Linked DNA regions of Homo sapiens: all the other regions are linked to region 1. Evidence: promoter capture Hi-C in 16 types of primary human blood cells and fetal thymus (Javierre and others, 2016). All regions are on one chromosome and are shown on one strand. The core of a region is centred on a gene start or on the middle of the fragment in contact, and the rest is flanking DNA. Distances in the headings are between cores, read along the strand shown. Region 1 holds the start of OR8J3 (olfactory receptor family 8 subfamily J member 3). Region 2 holds the start of OR5J2 (olfactory receptor family 5 subfamily J member 2). Region 3 has its middle 27 kb from the start of OR5J2.

The links. The method cuts DNA at HindIII sites, captures the fragments that hold promoters and counts their contacts. A CHiCAGO score of 5 or more calls a contact.
Region 2: a contact is called between the fragment with the promoter of OR5J2 here and the fragment with the promoter of OR8J3 in region 1, in 1 of 17 cell types (neutrophils). The highest score is 6.1, in neutrophils.
Region 3: a fragment that was not itself captured here is called in contact with the fragment with the promoter of OR8J3 in region 1 in 1 of 17 cell types (neutrophils); the score reaches 5.8 in neutrophils.

Annotation. Positions count from the first base shown.
Region 1 is chr11:56,138,482-56,142,365 of GRCh38, forward strand. It overlaps OR8J3 (olfactory receptor family 8 subfamily J member 3), which reads right to left and starts at 1,720. Exons shown (of 2, transcript NM_001004064.2): 1 at 1,692-1,720; 2 at 1-16. The HindIII fragment of the contact is 14,492 bases long and covers 1-3,884 here.
Region 2 is chr11:56,175,368-56,179,079 of GRCh38, forward strand. It overlaps OR5J2 (olfactory receptor family 5 subfamily J member 2), which reads left to right and starts at 1,251. Exons shown (of 1, transcript NM_001005492.1): 1 at 1,251-2,189. The coding sequence starts at 1,251. The coding sequence ends at 2,189. The HindIII fragment of the contact is 2,510 bases long and covers 1-2,260 here.
Region 3 is chr11:56,202,076-56,205,767 of GRCh38, forward strand. It overlaps the pseudogene NAA50P1. Among named protein-coding and RNA genes, the nearest start is that of OR5J2, 27 kb to the left of the region's middle. The HindIII fragment of the contact is 4,198 bases long and covers 1-3,692 here.

The sequences.
Region 1 (3,884 bases), core at 470-2,969:
ACAGTGAAACCCCTTTCTACAAACAAACAAACAAAAAAAAATAATTAGCCGTGCGTCGTGGCGGGCGCCTGTAGTCCCAGCTACTCGGGAGGCTGAGGCAGGAGAATGGCGTGGACCCTGGAGGCGGAGCTTGCAGTGAGCCGAGATTGCGCCAGTGAGCCGAGATTGCGCCACTGCACTCCAGCCTGGGCGACAGAGCGAGACTCCGTCTCAAAAAAAAAAAAAAATCAGTAAGATTTTTATCATTTTTGTAATTCCTCAACATTATGCTTTCCTGGGTACTACTTTCTATTTCTTCCCTCTCATGACTATTCTTTTCCTTGTGCTAAAAGTTCGTACAATACTCCGTGTTTTTTTCATGATTTTTCTTTTAATTCAATTTTTTGTTTATAAAATGTTATATTTCTTAAATTTACACAATACACCTGCTCTTAATTTTAGCTGATCTGTTTTTTTTACGTTTTTTGATATTTATATTATTGTAACAGGAATAAACACCTTCATTTTGAGGGTTTTTATGATAATTATGTTGCATGTATTTGCCATAGATTCAGCGTGCTATTTTAGTATGGATGAACACTTTCCTAGAGTTGTATATTTTAATCATGATTATTTGCCCCTAACTAAGTGAATTCATGTCCTGTTGGAGTCACAATTGATAGTTCCAGTGGTGGGCACCTGGTCCAAATAAGTCTTATCATATAGTTCTTTATTTTAAAGTTCACAATTAAGTTCCAGAAAGTTAAGAATATATTATCACACAGATCTGAATTTTAAAAGCCCAGAGCTATTCAGTTTCTCTCCTTCTAAAAGAGATAGAATAGAAAGAGAAACAAATGATTATTCTACAGTGAGAAAAAATAAAGAAGTGACTACTTAAAAAAAGAAAACAGAGAAATAACACCAAAATGACTCCTAACGTTGTTGGATATCTGGTACCAGTTTGTTTGATGATACCAAGCATAAATTTTTCCTGTGGGTTCTGTGAATTATCCTCTTATTTTCCACATATTTATTAAAATTCTACTTTGTTCCAGGCTATGTTCGAGCTTCAGATAAATTACCTGACCCTCAGATCGTGAATATGTTATTGTAATGATAGGGAAGAGAAAAATCTGTTAAGAAGGCATATAAACACAATAATTGCAGATTTAAATAAGCATAATAGGTAAAACAAACAAGATAATATACTAGGATAACCTGGGAGAGTACTATCACATAGAATATTAATATTAATACTTTTACAAGGAAGGCTCTTCTGAGAAGGTGGCATTTGAATTGAAACCTAAAGGTGGAGAAGGAATTAGCTATTTAATCAGTCACAGGAAGGGCATTCCAGGATTCCAGGCAAGAATTAATTTCTTGAAAATGCGTATCTGGGAAAAAATATGGCCTATGCCACATCTGTTCTTCATTCAGATAAAGTTATCCTGCCTTTAGAATATGTTCTTATAAATGCTGTAACGTGCATAGATAGGAAATGAGAATAGGACAGGAGGGGCACTAGGTAAATAATGATAGACAAAGATCCTTGTTAAAAATAGTTGAAAAGCATGAAACATTAAGTTAATAGCCCTATATTGCAAGGGAGGAAATAGTTTTGCAGAGTATAGGGGCCTTCAACATCTTTGGTGATAACCTAGTTTAAACTCTGCCCTTGAAAATTGTCAATGATCAATGTTTCTACTTACTTCAACAGAGAATCTGCTTTGCTTTCTACTTCTTTAGCCCTCACAGGTGGCTACAGAATAGATTTAAGGTTTTTTTCTAAAACCCTTGAGACTCATTTAGTTGAAGTTTCAATCTGATTCAAGGATAAAAAATTGTACATAATTACCTGAGGGAGAGTGCCTTGGATATTTGTTAATTATTCTCAGAATTTTCCATTAGAAAAAGTCATAATATTTTATGTTTCAGTCTAACTGAATAATTGAATTATGCAATATGACTAAACACAGGAAATTATAAATATGACTTTGTCAGCATTTTGGTTACACAGTATTTTGCTCATATTAAGTATACCACACACAGACACCCATATATGCAATTTGTTAGTAAATGAGAAAAAATTTTCTAGAAAAAAACATGCAAAATTTGATAATACAACATCCATTGACAAAGAATACTTTTGGTGATTATGGTATAATTCTACCAGACATATAGTTATTGGTTGACATAAGAAAGTGTCATGACTTTGGCCGGGCGCGGTGGCTCACGCCTGATATCCCAGCACTTTGGGAGGCCAAGGCGGGCGGATCACGAGGTCAGGAGATCGAGACCATCCTGGCTAACATGGTGAAACCCCGTCTCTACTAAAAATAAAAAAAATAGCCTTGCGTGGTGGCGGGCGCCTGTAGTCCCAGCGACTTGGGAGGCTGAGGCAGGAGAATGGCGTGAATTCAGGAGGCAGAGCTTGCAGTGAGCCGAGACGGCACCACTGCACTCCAGCCTGGGCAACAGAGGGAGACTCAGTCTCAAAAAAAAAAAAAAAAAAACAAAGAAAGTGTCATAGTGTCATGACTTTTATTTTTTCTGCCAATGTATCAGTGGTAAACATTTCTTCATTCGTTTATATCTTTTATCACTAGCAATTTTGAAGAATTTTTTATAATTTTTTATAATTAAATTTTTTATAATTGATGGTGAAGCACTTTGGCATCATTTTCTTTCTGTTTATTTTGCTTGGAGTTATTTTATCCTGTTGTATCTTCATCATTATTAAAAAATAAACTTAGAAATTCTGGCCAACATCTTTTTCCCTGTTTCTTGTCCTATAATATAGTTTTTTCTTTCCACTTAGACCTTATAATTAAACATGTGGTAGGTATCTTGTTATTGTTCTATAGTTGACTGAGACTGTTTCAGTGGGTTTTGTTTTTAGTATTATGTTTCTCTCTGGCTTCATTTTGAGTGTCTATTGTGACAAGTCACATCTTTTCTTTTTCAGTGTATGTTTTTTACTCAATAAATATTTGTTCATATGTAATATTGTATTTTCATTTATTTCTCACAGTGTTGGTATTTGTGCTAAATCATTCAGTATATCCAACATCTATAATAACATTTTGAAGGTTGCACACTGCTGCTTTCTCATAGGACTAGAATTTGTGATTGGATGTTGAATATTGTAAATTTTATAAGAATAATTGCTGTGTTTTATTTTAATTTGTTTTCCTAAAAGAATGATAAATGTTTTAAAATGTACAAGTAATTATTGACTTTAGTCACCTTGTCGTGCTGTCAGTTATCAGTTGACTCTATTCGAGACTTGTTTTCAAGCTGGCAAAGGGGTTTAAAATAGCTTTGTTCCTGAGATTTCTACTGGATGTCTATGTCTTGTAAAAGGACTTTCCACTATGACTTTTTAGAATTCTAATGTCTTCCTGCCCTGTGTAGTTTCTATGAAATGTTTCAGCACACAATTTCCTGGTCATTCTTTTAACAGCTTTATGTCATGCACAAGTCTAGGGTTCAGCCAAAATCTCAAGAAAACTTATGGAGGAAAGGATGACCAACAATAAGGATAGGACCTATAGGAAACAAATAGCAATATGCCAAAAGGATGTTCTCCATTATCTGTGATAACTTTAAATGGACATGGATTACATTCTCCAATTAAAAGAAAGAAATTGACAGAATAAATTAAACAAACCAAAAAAACCACGTGATCCAAATATATGCTATCTGCATGAGTCTGACTCACTTTGTTTAAATAAAATGAAAACAAGATTGAGAATGTACATCCTATTTTAAAAAAAGGCAAAACCCCTACAAAATAAAGATATAGCTTACTAAAATGTAGCTTAATGTGTGTTCCACTGGTAGAATATAAGGTATGAGATCACTAAAGAAAATAGTAAATCAGAAGAAAGACATTTTCGAAG
Region 2 (3,712 bases), core at 1-2,500, 36 kb after region 1:
TTATTGTCAACTATGTATTTTCACTTTTCACCATTGTTGTCTTTGAAATATTTTAATTAAAATTAATAAGGGGTATAAATTACACATAGACTGAATCAATATTTGTTTCTCATCATTTCTAAAACTACAATCCATTTAATAGGAAATAAGAGTGGGAGATAGTTGATTATGAAACAGGTGAATAGCTTTGAATAGGAGGTGCAGGTGTGTATTGTTCCAATTGAAATTACATTTTTAGAAAGTCTTAAATTGTCTAAACTACCTTTTATAGGATGAATAAGAGGAAGAAGTATCACAGAATATTTGGTGAGTATATATATTCATGTTCTAAATTATTGAGTTTGTTTTATTGCCTAAAATTATTTGAAGTCTCAGAAAAAAAAAAAAAAAAAAAAAACAGGAAGGCTCCATTTCATGCAATATGTGGGATTCTAGGTCCTCAATCTCAGAGTAAATGATTAGGGCTACTCTCCCACCATGATTGCAGGGAGGATTACCTAGAGTTAAGAATCCCCACTTCTTTTAGTAGGTGTCATTCAAGAGACAGGGTGTTATTTCATGAGTTTCAGAGTTTGGTGTTGCCACACCATGCCACCCATAGTCACAGAGGCCAGTCTCTGGCTCCCTGGCATTTTCCAATGTCATCACTGTGGGTCCCTGATCCACCTTACTTCATTATTGTGGCCACTTTGCTGTCTATAATAATGCAACTGTAGATTAATTCCCTCTATAAATAGAAAATACAGGCAATTTTAGAAAGTTTTCTTATTTACTCAAAAACAAACCAAAAAATTACCAGAAAGGAGTTTCATTGAATGGTAATTTAATATTCTAACAATATGTATTTTACATACTGTTCATTTAAATTATCACTAGTGTTTTATCAGTTTTGGTGGCACTTTGTTATGGAGCTAGACATTTCAGAGACAGATGCTGTGAGAAAAAATCATTTTTACACATCGATTTCTATGAGGTATAAGCACATAAAGTGTCACTGGAAAAAATATTAGAGACTGTCTAGCCTACTTGCTAAATTTATTGATGAAAATCCTCAGAATTCAAGAAAGAAGATTATTTACCTGAAGAACAACATCAGTAGTTGTCTGTATTTTATCCTTGTGCATGTGTATGTGTATAAAATATGTATCAATTTAAATACTTTATATATGTAATATATATGTATTTTCCCCCTGACAAATTATGAGTCTATCTTTTTTTCACAGTAGATTTTGTGAAAAAGAAAGAAACATATGGCTGATGATAATTTTACAGTTGTCACTGAGTTTATTCTTTTGGGATTGACAGATCATGCTGAACTAAAAGCTGTGCTTTTTGTGGTGTTCCTGGTGATTTACGCCATTACCTTGTTGAGGAATCTGGGCATGATCCTCTTAATCCAAATCACCTCCAAACTCCACACACCCATGTACTTTTTACTCAGCTGTCTTTCATTTGTGGATGCCTGCTATTCATCTGCAATTGCACCCAAAATGCTGGTGAACCTCCTGGTTGTGAAGGCAACAATTTCTTTCTCTGCTTGCATGGTACAGCATTTGTGTTTCGGAGTGTTCATCACCACAGAAGGCTTCTTACTGTCAGTGATGGCCTATGACCGCTATGTGGCCATTGTGAGTCCCTTGCTTTACACTGTAGCCATGTCTGATAGAAAGTGTGTGGAGCTTGTCACAGGATCATGGATAGGTGGAATAGTTAACACATTAATCCACACAATCAGCTTGAGGAGACTGTCCTTTTGTAGGCTAAATGCTGTCAGCCACTTCTTCTGTGACATTCCTTCACTGCTAAAGCTGTCATGTTCTGACACCTCCATGAATGAGTTGTTGCTGTTAACCTTCTCCGGAGTCATTGCCATGGCCACCTTCTTGACTGTGATCATTTCCTACATCTTCATTGCTTTTGCTAGCCTAAGGATCCACTCAGCATCAGGCAGACAGCAAGCCTTCTCCACCTGTGCCTCTCACCTGACTGCTGTGACCATATTCTATGGTACCTTAATCTTTAGCTACATTCAGCCAAGCTCCCAGTATTTTGTGGAACAAGAGAAAGTGGTTTCTATGTTCTATACGCTAGGGATTCCCATGTTAAACCTGTTGATACACAGTTTGAGAAACAAGGACGTAAAGGAGGCAGTGAAAAGGGCCATAGAAATGAAACATTTCCTCTGTTAATTTCAAGTCACTATTAATCCTACAACATTCTGTCATTCAGTTCTCACTTCCAAGAATTCCGTGAATGCCAAAGCTTCTCAAGACTTTACAGATATTCTCATTCTATATACTTTTGTTGCATTTCAGGAGGCAGCCAGAAGAGAAAACTTAATTCACATACCTGCAACACAAAAACAACAATCTATCACTTAGTTATGCTGATATTCTAGGTTATTCACGTAATAATCAATACATAGTACAGTATTACATCTGTTCTTTTCTGTTATTTGGGGTTACAAAATTATAATAATACTTGCACTTAAGGATATAAAAATAGGGTACTTTGTAGGAAAAAATAACTAGTCCTTGAATTTCCAAGAAAATAGATATAATTATACAACTGAAATGTGCCTTCATTGACTTATAATTTAAATATTTTAAACAGTGGCAGGCCCCTCATAGAAATAAACTGAAGAGATTATTTTCTCTCCAGCTCTTTCAAAAACATGTTTTTGTTAATCTCCTTCTCTATGATTTAAACTCTGAAGAGAGAGGGTAGCTATCCCTATGATTACTTCTGAGATTATAGCAAAAGCCTCATAAAATTTTAGCTTAAGATTTAAAAATTTTAATTGCATGAATAGAATAATATAGTCATTTTGAAGTATTTAAAATTAAAAACACATTTTATCTCTCTTTTTTGAATATTTTTTCTATCATTAAAGATCTAAAATAAAAAACTGCAAATAAGATAGTTAAAATTCCACAAATTTATCGTTTACAGAAATTTCATGGAATATATTAAATACTTAAAATCAGACTATGTAAGTTAAAACCTGTTCATTGACTCACTTCTGTAATTATCCATTCTAAGATTTGATAGTTTTCTTCCATTATGTAATGTTAACTTTTGCCATTAGCAAAAATTTGAGGAAATATTTGCATTAATATTAAATTAATTTGAATTAAGTGTATTTTTCTGTATTTTTGAACTCTACTATCATGATCAGAGGAAAGAATCTTGATACTTAAAGTTCATGAGACAGTTGAAGAAATAGCCAAGTAAATGTGTAGTTCCAGCTTTATAGTTGGCAAGTCAGACATATACAATTTGCTAATGAAAATTCATAAACAGAAAAAAATAGTTTTTTGAACTTATTCCTATATTGGAAAATCCAATTATAAAAGTGATTGTGCAAATAAATTTTAAAATGCTTATGAAATGAATATTGTTCACATTTAAGTATACGTGACAGTCATTCATGAGGGATATGGAGTTAATGCCACAAAATTACTTCTAACAGCAATAGTGATAACCATCATCACTATAATATTATTAATAAAACAATGACAATAAGCACACAGAATAAATAACTTCAGACTATGATATTGACAATTAAATATCATTGTGCACTGAAAGCCTCCCTATAATCCTGCTGTTAGTATGAAAAAAAGTATATATATATATAAAAGTATATATATATATAAAAGTATATATATATATATAAAAGTATATATATATATAAAAGTATATATATATATAA
Region 3 (3,692 bases), core at 675-3,174, 64 kb after region 1:
CAAACCCTTTTAAAAAAATAAAGCCCTGAAACTATAGAATTAACATGTAAATTTGTCAAGGTTTCCTATTTCTCTATTTTTCTTTTCTGCCTATTTTAAATCTGCTGACTTTTGTATTAGTGTTAAGCCAAAACTCAATTATTATGGCATTCCAGCCAAGACTATTTTTAAAAAAATAGATTTTAAAGAATTTTCAAATTAATGGCTTTACAAGCTACAACAGCTTCATGGTAACTTGGAAATATAAATGTAACTGTGTTTGACTAACAATTAGGGTAGTAGAATAGTTAGTTAAAGGATTAATAGTGTAAAAGAAAAAACTAAATAAAAGTTTATAAAAGTTTGGCTAACAGATCAAACAGGTCAAACTGTTAAGATCAGGGAAATAATATAAGATGTCTTTGTTAAATAAGATAAAAGTTCACATTGTCTGCAATCAGGGGCCAAAAGGAAAAAGAAAAAAAAAAAAGGAAAAAAATCCAGACTTACTAAAATGGTTTCCCGCTAATATTTGTCTGGTCAAGAAACACAAGACAGATTCAAGGCTACTCTTAAATTTGTTTTTCTTATACAACTCAGCCAGTCCTAGCAAAAATGTAAGTTTTAAATATTTAATCCTAAATTTACTTAAAATTAAAAAGAAAGAGAAAAAAGGAAAAAATAGTGTAAAAAAATTCCAATTGCTATGGAAAGTGCTGCTTTATACAAAATTTTGGTCGACAGCCTTCATTAGATTGCCTATCAGGCAAATAAAATTTAGTTATGTGAGGAGGTGCCAATTTTATAAAAAATATAATTTGAATCCAACTGTTTTTTTATAAACCAGTGAGTTTCTATAGTTTACTGTCTCATGACCAAATACTAAAATAAAGACTATAAAATCACTGTGTGTATATATGTGTTTAGGTACACTTATTGATATGTAAATATATTGTTGTATGTTGTACCTATATGGTAAAACCTAGTGCAGTTGGCCAGACATTCATTATGAAATTTTATTTAAATTGGCTTAAATAAATGAGCACTCATATAAAATTATATGATATAGTAATTAACCAAATGCCTTTTAGTTCATGTGACATAGGTATATCTTTAATAAATTAGCTGATTTTAAAATTATTGGTAAAGTAAGAAAAAAAATCTTCAGGATTGGAAACATACATTTCTGCCTGAATTTACTGGTCAGACACTTTTATACTTGTCTGGGCTAGATGGTTTAAAGTGTCAAGATTTGACACACAGGTTGTAAAACTATAAACCTAGCCTAAACCAGAATAATCTTTCTGTAACTCTTTGATACATAAGGGTAATTTTATATTGTCAGTTTAATGAAAACCACTGTATTTTTTGAATTATTGATAAAATACTCATATAATTAAAGTTCTTAAGTGAACACCTGAGAGTCACAGGCTATAATAATAATTGATAGGAAAATAATTTAAAAATATTCTAGTTTTGTTTAATATGTCAATTCTCATAGATAACACAGGTAAACTGTTAAAGTTAAATAAAATTTAAGTAAATGAGATAAATGCTTATAAATAAACTTTTCATGTAATTTAAAATTGTAAAGTTATGTTATGTTAAATTAAGTAATAAATATTCACTAAATAACTGGGTCATTTGCAAATTTTAGAAAATCAAACTGATTGTTAAACAAAATACTTTTATTCATGGTTTCTTAAATTATATAGAAATAGTAAATATACTAGAGTCTATCAGTACATACAAAAATTATGCTATAGGAAAACATGTTTCAAAATATATAAAATGGCTTCCATTCCATAAAATACTGATAAATGACAGATGGTTTAACACTGCTTGGTAGAAATTAGGTTGCTAAGAGTTAAAATTCCAATTAATATGTATATAATTCTGGGACAGAAACAGTGACTCACGCCTGTAATCCCAACACTTTGGGAGGCCACCTCCTGAGGTCAGGAATTAAAGGCCAGCCTAGCCAACATGGAAAAACCCCGTCTTTACTAAAAATACAAAAATTAGCTGGGCGTGGTGGCACATGCCTGTGATCCCAGCTACTCAGGAGGCTGAGACAGGAGAATCACTTGAACCTGGTAGGCAGAGGCTGCTACGAGCCGAGATCGCATCTCCGCGCTCCAGTCTGGGCAACAGAGCGAGACTCTGTCTCAAAAAATAAAAATAAAAATAAATAAAACAACAACAGTCAAAATCAATATAATTCTGTATAGAAAATGTATTAAAAACAAGATTTTTTGACAAAAAACTATTTACAAACCTAAAATATGTTCTTTTAAAAATAATATTGCATAATTCAGAGGTTTTTTAAAGATTATTTCAACAAATAGATTTAGGAAGAAAATTAAAACAAGACAAAAACTAGTAAATAGTTGAGAGAGATGTGACAAAAGTTATGGGTAAGAAAATGTATTTTTGGCAAAGAAGGTTAAAAAATTTTGTAGAAAAAAAATCTCGTGTGATAATTTTTGTACTAAAGTAAAATGCTTATTTTAAAAGGAGCAAGCACAGGACAAAATTAAAATTCCAAACATGTCAACAATGGTCTGAATAAATCATGAAAATAATTTTAAAGAGGAATTTATAAAATAAATTTTGTTTGTAATCAAGTTCTCTATAACTAAATGTATAAATATATTTATAAGTTATTCAGTATTAAATAAACTAATATAAAACTAAATCTTTGTCCCTTATGGTAAAACAATATGGTTTTATTGAAATGTTGGTTTGCTTTTAATAAAATTGCAAAAAGTTTTGATTTTTAATTTTGAAATCTGTTTCTGTAACAGTCATTTTCTAAACTGCAAACACTATCTATTTCTGCCAAATTTCTTTCTGAGATCCAATTAATTTTCCTAATTTCTGGTTGGAAATGCTGTATTTTTTTATTTAAAATGAGAATGTTACTTCTATAGGTAGATTTCTCCTCTTAAAGTATTTTAGATTCATATTTTGAAGTTCAATTTTTGCTATATCTCACTGCACGTGATTTTCAGGTTATTATTGCCTTCAGTTTTCCTTCTTTCTCCTTTTGAGAAGGTAATTTGTTCAGTTGTCTGTCTTTTCCACATCTGCATTCTGACCAGAAGGTAATTTGAGGTTTTTCTGCAGGACATGATCATCTGCAGGCTTTGCGGTTTTATAGTAGTTCTTCTTGGGCTCCATAATCTCAAAGCCAAACTTCCTGTAGAAGTCAATTGCCGACTCACCGCTGATCTGGACATGCAGATAGATGTCAAAAGTGCCATCTTTTTCACATGTTTAAGACATGAATTAACATTGTAGTTCCTATTCCTAGCCTTTGGTAAGGTGCCAGATATCCAAGTGTCATGATGTAAAGTCTTTTCTGATTCTGTGAATGAGCCACCCTAGAGTACACTGCACCTACAGGAACATCACTGAAATAGGCAAGTTTTGATCGTTCACCACCTCCATCACATCCTTGTAGAACTTACCATTGTAGCTGACTGAAAAGATAACCCGATTCCTTCTCTTCAACTGTTTAATATTGTGTGGTGTCCCATCTCCCAGCTCCATCCAGCTACCTTTCATCCTCCCCACCTGCTGAGGCTTTTGTTATCACCAATAGCAACTCAGTCATAGTTGCTGCCCTCAGCTCAAGACACTCAACCACACAAGATGGCCTCCTCACCCGGGCAGGGAGCTGAGCAGGTGACAGAGGCAGTGCGTCCCTA